Regions from separate parts of the Homo sapiens genome. Here region 2 is linked to region 1. Evidence: promoter capture Hi-C in 16 types of primary human blood cells and fetal thymus (Javierre and others, 2016). All regions are on one chromosome and are shown on one strand. The core of a region is centred on a gene start or on the middle of the fragment in contact, and the rest is flanking DNA. Distances in the headings are between cores, read along the strand shown.

The links. Contacts are between HindIII fragments. The CHiCAGO score rates a contact against its expected background, and 5 or more counts as called.
Region 2: a fragment that was not itself captured here is called in contact with the fragment with the promoter of NCAM1-AS1 in region 1 in 3 of 17 cell types (M2 macrophages, M0 macrophages and M1 macrophages); the score reaches 6.8 in M2 macrophages.

What each region holds. Positions count from the first base shown.
Region 1 is chr11:113,272,170-113,278,424 of GRCh38, reverse strand. NCAM1-AS1 (NCAM1 antisense RNA 1) reads left to right here and starts at 4,524. Exons shown (of 3, transcript NR_034101.1): 1 at 4,524-4,801. It overlaps NCAM1 (neural cell adhesion molecule 1), which reads right to left. Exons shown (of 20, transcript NM_181351.5): 20 at 1-3,158. The coding sequence ends at 3,038. The HindIII fragment of the contact is 7,964 bases long and covers 1,513-6,255 here.
Region 2 is chr11:112,792,053-112,797,800 of GRCh38, reverse strand. No RefSeq gene overlaps it. Among named protein-coding and RNA genes, the nearest start is that of NCAM1, 170 kb to the left of the region's middle. The HindIII fragment of the contact is 2,125 bases long and covers 388-2,512 here.

The DNA of each region.
Region 1 (6,255 bases), core at 3,275-5,774:
TTCAATTTTTATTGAACACAAGTATTCCGACAGAATGCAAAGTCAAAATTCTCAGTTAGTACTCAGTATTTACACCAGTGAGAATGGAAACAAAGGTGGTATCGATGTTTCACTTGGTAAAAAGTTTTATAACAAGAGAGAAGGCCCCCGAAGTACAGAATGCTGGGTAGGGATGTTAATGGAGGTCTGAAAACCGCCATCCAGACAGACAGCCTCAAGTGAAAACCTGGGACTCGGAAGGCTCCATAGAAAAGTGTGAAAATAGAGTTCCACCTCCAAAGCTGCACTATATACACCACAGCCCTGCAGGGTCCAGTGGCCCTGCTCGTCACACTTGAGTGCTCCTCCAGCAGAACTTGGCCATGCCGGTCTTCATGTGAATACATATGTATGGCACATACACACATAGACACATAGACATTGGAAACTGGAGTTGATCCCTCCTTCAAAAATTAAAAAAGAAAATTATAAGCTTTGATCTCTTAACATAAAAGATAAAACATCTTGGAATAAAATGACTCCCTCTTTGATTTTAGAGAAAGCATTGCTTTTTTTTTTTTTTTTTTTTTTTTTTTAAAGGAAAAACTCTTGCATGCTGAGACAAACCTATGTGTAATGGGAGAGAACAGACCAAAATGTGGGCAGAGTCTTAGGTCCTAGCTAATGGCAGAGCCAGGGTTCTAGGGGGTCAGCTGTCCCGGGCCAGGTGATCTGAGGGCTGACCTGTTTCTTCCTAACCATCAGAACCAAAACCAGTTTGACCTAACCACAACCACTTTGACAGTCTTGACAAGGTATGGCATGGGCTTGGCCTGGTGTGGCAAAGCCATCGACATTACAAGATGAAGAACTGAGTCCACTGAACAGCCTGGTGACCAGAAGAGCCTGCCCCTCACTGCTGGGCCCTCCCGGTCTCAGACACCCAGGCTCTCACATTCTACTGTGTGCTCTAAGATCTCTCTTCATGTTCCTCTATTCTGAGGGCCTGTGCATTTGAACCAGAGATCTGTGCAGGCCCTAGAATCAAAGGGGCCAGGGCTGTGTGTTCTGGGATCCTCCATTTCCATCCCCAGGAGCTGAGAAAATGCAACATAACCCCACATTGAGCAAATGACAAGACCATTATTCTTCACAGTTTGAAATTATAATCTAGCATCGCCACTGATCAGACTGCAGAAGTGTCAGAACGTTGGGGAGAGTGGCCCACAGAATGGACCCAGAGGCAGCCTTGCCACCCTAACCTCTTGCTGCTTTGTACCTTAGGAGAGGAGCGCATGCGGAGTACTGATTTCTGTTTACTTAGCATCATCTTCATCATCATCATCATCATCTGTATTTCATTTTCTTTGTTAAAAGGCTTCGATTCCGTTTGAGTGATTTTTGTTTCCTGAATATTTTTTCTGAACTATCTGCTATACCTTCCACAACCAAACTATGTTGAAGTTTTATTTCAATACTATGACAAAAACACGTTTCACACTAAAATATTCACGCATCCACAGTGCACAAGCTTGCAGTTCTAAAGTAGAATGAGGGAAAAAAAAGCAAAATTTCTATACAAAGGGCTGGCTTTTCCCTTCTCCCCCCCCTCCCATCCCCCTTAAAGTTTCTGTATTTTTTCCCCCACTTGGTTTCCAATCCAGGAAAGTTGTGTTATGACTCCAGACAGTAGGTTGTTTCTTTCTTCTTTTGTTTCTATAAATGCTGCCTAAGTGAACAGAAGGCCGATGTTACTTTACTTCAACAGATTTCCAAAAAAAGACACTAATTCCCTGAAGCACACATGCTCTTCCGCTCAAATCTAGATTCTGGGCTCAAAAGGAAATGGTATGTATAGATTTTATTTGGCTTTCTACACAAAGGGGATGTGTGGGGTAATAATGTGTGTTCACCAAGACCAGCCCCAACTATACAATCTTCTCTGCTTCATTCAACAAAGCCTAAGGAGTCCTTCAAAAGAAGGGTGAGAACGCCTGGGAGCAGATCCCTTTTCACAGATGCAGGCAGGTGGCGGCTAATCAGAAAGTGGTCTAACCCCCAAAGAAACACAAAAATAACCAAAAATTCAAAAGCAAAACCATTCCAGAATGAGATGGATTTTCACCTGAGTGGGACCCAGGCAAAAACTGCAGATCAGAAAAGAGGGGAAGAGCAGCTGTAAACAATCATGTTTTGTAAAGTTGTCCTGTGCTAAAGCAAGCGTGGGATGATCCTACCTACCTCTAGGTGGTATTTGTTACCTTAAAAAATAAAAGGCAGCTATTTTACACGGACATTTAAACACAACCAAAGTCAAACATTTGTCACCTTGTAAACACTGGAAAACAAAGTTGGCAGAAAGAAAGAAAGAAAAAAGAATGTAAAAGAAAGAAAAAGAAGTCTGAATACTGCAAATTGAGATCTACCCCCAGAAGCTGCAATTTGGCATTCGTCCTATAAAATAAGAGTCTACGTGGGAATTGAATTCAGCTAGAAAGGGTGACACACTTTGCATACTGAACAAATACAAAGTGAACAGAAATTATAACTTATTTATGAGGTTTTACAGAGTTCAAACTTGACTGAAAGTATAAAAATAAACTGTGGACTTTGTTCATTCGATTAGTCTTAGTGCCTGAAAGTATTTCTCTGAAACTGGTCTGTGCCAATCGGGTAACACCAAGTGTGGTCTTCCTGAACCTAGATTTCGTTTCTGAGCTTCCTAGATTCTTAATTTGGGGTCCTTTTGTTTGATTTTTTAACGGTTTCAGGGAACGGAGTGTCCTAGTTTGGCTGTGGGTTTAACCTTTTTGTCTCATTTTCTTACAAGTGAGTGTGCAACAAAGGGACCCTTTCTATAAACCTACAAAAAGGAGATTCCCATGTTTTATCTGTTTAGTTTTTTTTAAAGGCAAAAGACACTAGAGAAATGAGATGTGTGTGTGTGCATGTGTGTTTGTGTGTGTGCGTGCGTGTGTGTGTCTGTGGTGTTGGAAATGCTCTGGTGAAGCTGCTGTGTCACTTTTTATTTTGATCTTTGCTCGGTTCTCTTCACCCATCATGCTTTGCTCTCGTTCTCCTTTGTCTGTGTGGCGTCATTGGGGACCGTCTTGACTTCGGCTGGCGCTGGCTTCGTTTCTGTCTCCTGGCACTCTGGCTTTGCTTCTACGGGGCCCTTCCTGCAGAGAATCAGGAAAACAGAACCACTGAGACCACGGTCTGCAGACATCTCGCCCCTGCATCCAGGCCTTGGGGACAGCAGGGAGGAGGAGGGGTTCTCCAGTGACAGCACCCGGCTCCAACCTCTGCCCGTCAAATCACCTGGGAGCACTAAAAATCACCCAAGCCCGAGCTGTGTTCGCGGAAATCCTGATTTAATTGGTCCGGACACAGTGACTTTTAAAAGCACCCAAGTGACTCTAATGTGCAGCCATAGTTGAGAAGCACTGAGTCAGAAGAACGAGTCCTTTCCTCTTCCAGCCCTAAGTTGATGCCAGAGGCTGTGTTTTTACCTGGGGTGGTGGAAGGGGGCAGCAGAGGCAGCTCCTCCTCACCCTGACCAGCTGCAGTGGCAACAGCTCAGCTGGATGTAAATGCAGCCTGCTGGGCTGGGCTGGGCTCCCAGCACTGATTTCAGGGGCCCCTTTGCAACCCACTCTTGCCTGTCCCTTCCCCACCCCACCCTGTGCTGTTGCAGGATGATGCCTCTAGGGCCTGCCTGGGTAGGGTGAGAAAACACTGATGGAGGCAGCTTTTCATGGCAGCCTGGTGGGGTACTAGAGTGGGCCTGGTGGCTATGCGAGAGTTGAGGGCAGCTGAGTGGGCAGGGCTATCAGAGTCCTTTTCCCTCCCGATGCTGAGATTCAGGGCTCCTGGCGAGAGCCCCTTGCAGCCCATGGTGGCAGCATGGCAGCTTATCTGGGGAGCAGCCATAGGAGCCTCTATAAAAATCTAGGTCTGACTCTGCCTCCATCAGTTCCAGGAAAGGGAGTCGGGTCTGAGGATGCATGGGGACAGGCACAGACCCCAGCCTCAGCTGGTGCCACTGAATTTTGGCAAGACACTTACAAACCTGAAAGGTTAAGGCCTTTCTCTTGAACTTTGAGACCCAGCAGCCATTTGATGCTGGGGAGCCCCGAGTCTTCCCAGCCACTCTAAGAGCAGGAGAAGCAAGAGTGGGCTGGGGGCCGGGGTTGGGAGGGGAGGGTGAGCATCTGAGCCACAGTGTGAGGGGACCTCTGAACTGCACCCTCCCCTGCCACGGGCCTGGGGCCTACCTCTTTTCTTCCTGCACATCAGTGCCTTTCTGGTAGGGACTCAGCCTGGCACTGAATAACACACCGACTGGGGGCCCCAGGGTGGCTGATAAGGGCACCTTGGCCTTCTTAGCCTGCTTCCCAAGCTATTCTCATCAGTGGCCTGACTGCAAGGGCTCCCCCAGGGAAAACAGAAGCCGCTGCTAGGATGATAAGGATAAAACATAATTAACATGGCCTAATTAGCCAGCAGGCGGCTGCTCCTGGGGCCCAGCTGCCTGTCCTGCTCTCTCTGCCTTATCCCAGCCCCTTGGTTGACGGTCGCCTCAGAGAAGCCCTGGATGAGGCTGAAGACACATCTAACAAGGAGGACACAGCACAGCACAAATGCACACCACCACAGGACACAACCCGATGACAGCAGACAAAGAGAGGCCGTACTCGGTCTTTGCTGGCGCAGGCGAAACAGAGCTGTCTGCAGTGGAAGGAGCAAGCTCAGGGGCTTGTCCACTGGCCCCAGCGGCGGGAGCAGGAGAGCCCAGGGCTGCAAAAACATCCTTTGCAAGGTCAATATCTGGGGTCTTGAAGTTCCCTTCGTCCATTTTAAAGTCCTCGCCCTGGGAAGGGTTTGTGGTGCTGACGGAGGCAGCCTCGCTCTTCGGGCTAGCAAGGGCTGTGGCTGCCTCGGCCGGGCTCTTCGCGGCTCCGGGCTGGGTGGGCTCCGGGTCCGGGCCTTTGGTGCTGGGAGCCTCCTGCTTGGCCTGAGGGGCTTCTGTGGCAGGGGCAGCCGCTGCTGCTAGAGGACTGGCTGCCCCAGTCGGGGTGGGGACTGGTGCAGGGGTGGGCTTGCTGGCCGGAGGAGCCTTAGAGGCCTCCCCGACACCAGCAGGGGCGCTTGGGCTGAGGACAGCCCCTTGGTTAGCCAGGACACTAGAAGACAAATTGCTAGCGGCAGGGGTTGAGGTCGGGGTGTCGCTCAGGTCAACGAGGGGGGCGACCTTGGGGGCTGAAGCTGGGGCCGGGGAGGGGGCAGAGGCGCTGGGCCCCTTGGAAGGGGTGGCCTGGCCAGCCGGTACAGAGTTTGAGTCAGGCGTGGCCGTGGCCGGCGGGGCAATACTGGAGGTCAGGGTGGTGGTCTCACTGGTGGGGCTGTTCTGAGCAGTGGCAAAGGTTTCGGTGATAGTGTCAGAGTTAGTGGTGACGGTGGTGACAGAAGGCAGCATGTCCTCGACAGTGGCCGTAGTGTCGGCAGGCAGCCTGTGGGAGGACAGGAAGTAGAAGAGAATAGACAATGAAGCTGAGACGTGACAGAGAAGCGAGGAGGAGGGCTGAAGCCCAGGACAGGGACCATGGGGGTGGGGGCATGCAGTTAGGCACAGGCACGGACACAGGCCCACAGAGAGAGAAGGATGCTGAGAGGAAGCACACGCCCAGGTGGGCAGAAGAGGACACAGGAGACGACAGAGAACGTGGCGGTCTCAAAAGGGACCTGCTAGCCCTTCCCTGCTGATGTCTCTCCAGCTCTCTGCATAGAGCTCCCTTTCCCTGAAGTCCTTGCAGACCTGCCTAGGGCTTCCTGATCCCTGCCCTGGATCTCCATTCAAGGAGGGGCAGGCTTCTGTTCAGCATCCACCTGCTCTAGGCTTCCCAGGTCCCAGAGGAACTGGGCCCAGCTGTCCTGCAGGGCTCCCCAGGGCACCGATGGGAAAAGTCACGAATAAGGCAGATCACGAGTACTCAGAATGGCTCATAGGAGCTGTGGGTTCTTCCAGTCACAGATTTTGTGGTTCCCTGAAACTCCATTCCCTTTAAGCCCATAAGATCCTTGACAGCTAGGCAGGCATTACAACCACAACTGGTCTGGGGCTCCGTGGGTCCCCGAGGTTTCTGAACAGAGGAGGGGCAGAGAACTTTACCAGGTCCCCAGCTTCCCTTATCCTTTCAGGGGGAAAACACAAAACCCTAGAATTTCAAGAAATCCTAAGCAGACTCTGCTAAGCCTTTCAGTGAGATTTTGCCA
Region 2 (5,748 bases), core at 201-2,700, 480 kb after region 1:
CCCCTCTTCTTGAGTTTGTAGAAAAGGCTTTTCTCTGGACTCAAAGGAGGTAGGATTCCCCCGCCTTTTTTCACTACCTGCTTCTTGCCTCGCTGAATTCTTTTTTGTACCTTCTCCCTTTGGTGAGTGGGTGCCATTTATCCAGCAAGAATGAACCAACTTATATAGTCTTTCACTCATTCCCTTGGCTTCCCTTGTTTTCTTTTGTCTGCCCTTGAGTTTCTTGGATTAGCCTGCCTCTGCTCAAGGCTGGAGCATGGTTTTCACAGGGTGCTTCCTGGGTTGACTTCAGGATTTAGGAGGTCAGGGGATGGGGTGCTTTATCTCTGCATCCTCAACTACAATATTCACCTCCACCAGAGAGCAGAGAAGTAGATGGTCCAAGCTTTGCACCAGACTAGAAAGAATACTCCCCGGGAGAGTTCCCAGCCCCCAGAGGTCAACCATTAATCACCTTCTGGAAGCCTGTTGCAGGGTTTGTGATGGAAATGACTCTGTCGTCATGGTAACTCTGCCTGGCCTGGCCAGGGGCTGCTCCAGCCTAACTGGCTCTTCTGGGTTTCAGGTTTATTTACAAGCTGTGACTCCTGCCTGGTAGGTCTTCAGAGCAGCTTCTTGCCATCTGGAACCTGAGGGAAAGGCTGGGGATGACATAGGCCTAAACCAGTCCTTGTTCAAAATGATGGTTTCAAACCTGGTTCTCCCATTCAAGAAAGATGAGACCTTTCACCGTAGTGCTAACATGTCTTGCCTGTTGACTGGACGTGTCCCAGAGGGACAGAATTGTATATCTGGACTTTGAAGTGGAAACACCTAGGGTCTGAGCAAGGGCTCTGCCTCTTACCAGTTGTCCATCTTTGGGCAAGTTACTAAAACACTGATCTTCAGATTCTCCCCCTCTAAGAGAAGTCCTCATACCAAGTTCACAGTGTAATTGTTAGAATTAAATAAGATAACTACATAATGCAGGAATGGCACACTTTTTCTGTAAAGGCCCAGGCAGTAAATATTTTAGGCTTTGCAGGCCACGCGGTCTCTGTCTCAACTACTCAACTCTGCCCTCATAGCATGAAAGCAGCCCGGATCAAGAGTAAACTAAACAGTGCAGCAGAGTTCCAGTAAAACTCAGGTGGCCCTTGCTGGGCAGTCTGGGCTGACCACGCATTCTAAGCAGGAGCTACATCTGAATGAATAATATGCATCGCTGGCCACCGCGGAGAAGAGGCACCAGTGAGGGCAGCAGTGTGGTGACACAGCCGAGGGCAGGGTGAGAAGTTCAGGCTGGCTTCAGAGCCCCAGTTCTGACAGGCTCTGCACGGCCGCTCACATCTCCGGGGAAAGCCACAGTGTGCCAACAGCCCAGCGACCTGCTATACTGAGCTGTGATTTATTAATGCTCTCACACAGGGCCTCTCTCCAAGAGGTTTGCTGGGGTTGAGGGAAGAATATGGGATCCCTAATTCATTCAGAACACTCTGATTTATACCAGCTCCTGGCAGCGGCGTTTTCCAAGACCCCTCAAGAGTGAAGGGGATTTAGAACTCTGTTTTCCATTCTGTGTTCACTGGTTCCAAACAACTAGCGGGTTAGAGATAGACCAAACTGGTTCTGCCTGAAAGACTCTCAGCCCTGCCGAGGGGTAAGCAGGTGTTACCCATCAGTCCAACTCCCTCCTAAGACAAGAGGTCAGGTCCTCGGAGCCAGCAGGCTGCGGGCTGAGTACATCTGTCAGTTCGGAGGGGTGGCTCACAGCAGGTCAGCTGGGGGGTGGCCTGTTTCAGAACTCAGGCCAGTGATCTCTTTGGGGGCTGGCAGTTGACTGGCAGCAGGTCTGCGCTGGTCAGGAGGATCATGAGGGAGGTGGGGTTTGGTGCTGGAATGGATGAGTCTGGGACTTTTCAAGTCCATGGTCACAGTGTGACCACAAGAAAGAGCTTTTCCCTCCTGGGCCTCAGTTTACCTCTCTGTAAAACAGGGTCCTCTCTTCTGTCCTCTCAGCCCTCCGTGAGTAGGTGGGTTGTGGTGAAGCCTGGCTGATGGTAACTGTGGGAACAGGTGGTGCACGACTCCAAGAGGGTTCTATTTATGCGGTTTATTCTGATGACACTGTGTTTTCTCCCGACAAGCTCGGGTGCTGAGCAGCTGTTCTTTCGCTGTCACCCCTGTGGCGTCGCTGTGAGGGGGAGTATTTCTACTTCTCACTGACAGTTTTCCTTGCCATGGAGGCTTTATTCAGCTCCTTAATACCAATGCTTTACATGTGGATGCAACTTCACAGTTTACAAAGCAATTTCAGAGACATCTTCTGATTTTATCTCCATAACAACCCATTCAGGTTGGCGTGGCCGACGGGTCTATCCTGAATTAGAGATGAGGAAACCGCCTGTCAGGTTAGGTGTTTCAACCCTGTGCTGGGTTCCCACCACCGGTAGGTGGCAGGGCTGAGACTGAGACATACACTTACCCCGCCACATTAAAACTTCTCAGGAAAACTGCTGCCTTTTAAGAAGCTTTTGTTCTGGCTGGCAATGGTGGCTCATGCCTGTAATCCCAGCAATTTGGGAGGCCAAGGTTGGGGGATCACTTGAGGTCAAGAGTTTGAGACCAGCCTGGCCAACATGGCAATATCCTGCCTCTACTAAAAATACAAAAATTAGCCAGGCGTGGTGGCAGGTGCTTGTAATCCCAGCTACTTGGGAGGCTGAGGCAGGAGAATTCTTGAGCCTGGGAGGTGTACGTTGCGGCGAGCCAAGATTGTGCCACTGCACTCTACCTGGGTGATACAGTGAGACTCCGTCTCAAAAAAAAAAAAAAAAAAAAAGAAGAAGAAAAAAAAGCATTTGTTCCAGTGTACTTTTATTACATTAATGTAATAAAAGTATCAAGGAACAGTTTGTTTTGGAGGGGCAGTGGGAAGGAATTTTTAAAAATAGTATAATGAAGAGGGCTTTTATTCTGTAAAGCTGCCTTCTGTCCTCAGTGCTGAACTTCCTGTCATCATCACCAAAATAAATTCCACTTTCAAATGTGACTTTTCCCCCAGGCCTTCCAAAAACTCAAGCCAGACAGGTTTGAGGGAGAGTGTGAGCTATTTTTACTACTGTCTGGGGTTCTCCCTATTCATTGTTGGAGGGGGAAAAAAAGACAGTTGAAAATCCCCAAGAATTTTCTCTGGCTGTGAATTTGCACCCAGCTGTCTCCACACACCCACACCCGGCAGCATGCGGCTGTTGGACACTGCTGGCCCTGAGTTCAACATCATTTTCATCTTTGACAGGCTTGCTCAGCCACCATCTCTGAATTATAGTAGTAGTCATAACCCAACAATGCTCTGGGCAGGTCCTTGGTACCCAAGGCCAAAGACTTTCCAGTCTTTGGAAACCAGTCATAACCTTCTATGGCCAGATGTGAAGGAATGGAGTCCTGACCTCACAGTCCCAGTTTCTAAAGTGATCCATTCTCTGAATTCCTACACCCAGAAATGCTCTGGCTTTGCACCCTTGGGTCCTCTGCCTTTCCAAGGTCCCACCTGACTGGTGGCCAAAATTGTGAGCCATTGATGTAAACAATAAAAATGATAGTAGAACAAACCCATTAGGCTGAGCCAAGTCACCCTGACCAGAAAAAAAAAAAGCCACATCTGAAGAAAGTGAAGACAAACAGGAAATCTTTGCAAATAGTCACTCTTATCTCCACTCACCTCATATCCCTGCCCTTCCTCACTATCCCTTTCCCCTTTCATCTTTCCTTCCTTCTTCCCCTTTCTCCTATAATACCTGTGTTTCCTCACTAAACCGATTGTCTATGCCACAATCCCTGAAAAATATTCCCATCTATAACCCGTGAGGTTTGTGTCCATTTCAACTCTAGGTTCAATTCTGTTAAAGTGAACAGTGAATTCCAAGAAACTGTCTAAATAATTTCATTGTGTTGGAAGTTTTTGTAACAAATTTGCAAGAAAAAAAATGACCGAATCTTGGATATGGATATCCTGGAGGCTACAAAAGTGTTTTTACTGTAAGGATGTTTGAAATAACATTGTGTTAAAGGGATATTGGGGTTATGTCATTGCCTCTGACCTAGAGAGTTTCACCTGCTACCTCCATCAGACTCCTTCCAAGACCTCACAGATGCCTGGATTTGGTAGCTGGCCAGGTATTCTTCATAGCTGTATGATCCCCTGGATTGAGTCATCCACCAAGTATCCTTTTGAGGACTTCCAGTGGGATTAGCATCTGGCTGGGTGCTGTGAAGAATTTCCCAAACATAAGATAGAATTGCTCTCCTCATGGTGCTTACAATCTAGATGAGGGAGGTACATCTCGTATGCAACAGCTAAATTGAATAGCAGAAGGCAGTACCTAGTTAAGTGCTAGGCTATGTGGACTACAAATGCCATCCTCATTCTGTCTGTAATGTGAGCCTATTCTAGGCACAGGGGAAGACTAAGTCTGCCTTCTGCTCCATTCCAGCCCTCCCAATGCCTCAGAGTCCTTTGTATATATTGTACGAGCTCCGCTGTAGAACTTACTACATTGTGTTGTATGTTCGTTATGTTTATTTTATTTTATTATTTTATTTTATTTTTTATTTTTTGAGATGGAGTCTCACTCTGTCACCCAGGCTGGAGTGCAATGGGACGATCTTGGCTCACTGCAAACTCTGCCTCCCGAATTCAAGCAATTCTCCTGCCTCGGCCTCCTGAGTAGCTGGGACTACAGGCACATGCCACCATGCCCAGCTAATTATTTGTATTTTTAGTACAGACGGGGTTTCACCGTGTTAGCCAGGATGGTCTCGATCTCCTGACCTTATGATCTGCTCACCTCGGCCTCCCAAAGTGCTGGGATTACCTGCGTGAGCCACCGTGCCTGGCCCGTTATTTTTATCCCTGTCTCTATGAGTATTTTGTGCTTGAAGACTTCCACTTTGCAAAGGATCTAGCGATGTGCCTGTCACACTGTCAGTTTTTAAGGAAATTTTTAAGTGCTTATTGAATGTAGAATGTTGGCTAAGTATTGATGCTAGAGAACTATTGTCTGGCTGCCCTCCCACATGGGATTCCATAGCACAGCCATGCTATGCTTTTTCCTTTTCCAAGGTGTCTAAAAGAAGGAGCTGCTCCAGAGGACCGAACATAAAGTCAGCAAGCTCATCTTAGAAACCCCGGGTGGAAGGAAATTAGAATCCTGAAAGTTATTTTGGGGTCAAGAAGTCCAGTTTGGATCTGTCAGAGGTGGAAACAGGCCCCAGTGGGCCTCTCTCAGCTGTATCTTTGGAAAAATTGATGTCTGCATTTTAATTCTCTCCAACATGTCATTAACCCCACAGACACCCTTCCACTGAGACAAGACCCATGATGAGGGTTGTAGGAAGAGAAAGAACTTTCTCTAAGGGTTCTGTCCTTTACTCAGTGAAAAAGGATCTATTAGAGGCTGACAAATCAATAAATGCAATTTAAGCCGCTTTCTTGGAGTCTGTGTGACTTACAGGAAGGGTAGTGTATTGCCTGGGTGGTGCCATGGGCCCCCTGCTCCTTCCCCTCTTTGCAATTATAGCAAATTTGCCTAATGCACTAAAAGCCAATGAATCATGTCCACTGGTGATGGGATGGGAAAGGCGAGAAGGAAGATGTCGGATGCTGGCAGCTGCCTTGATAACCTCGGTTTTAATTAGGCTTTAGTGAATAACAAACAAAACAATCATTCATTTGCGACAACCATCTATAGTGACTAAAAGGCCCATATT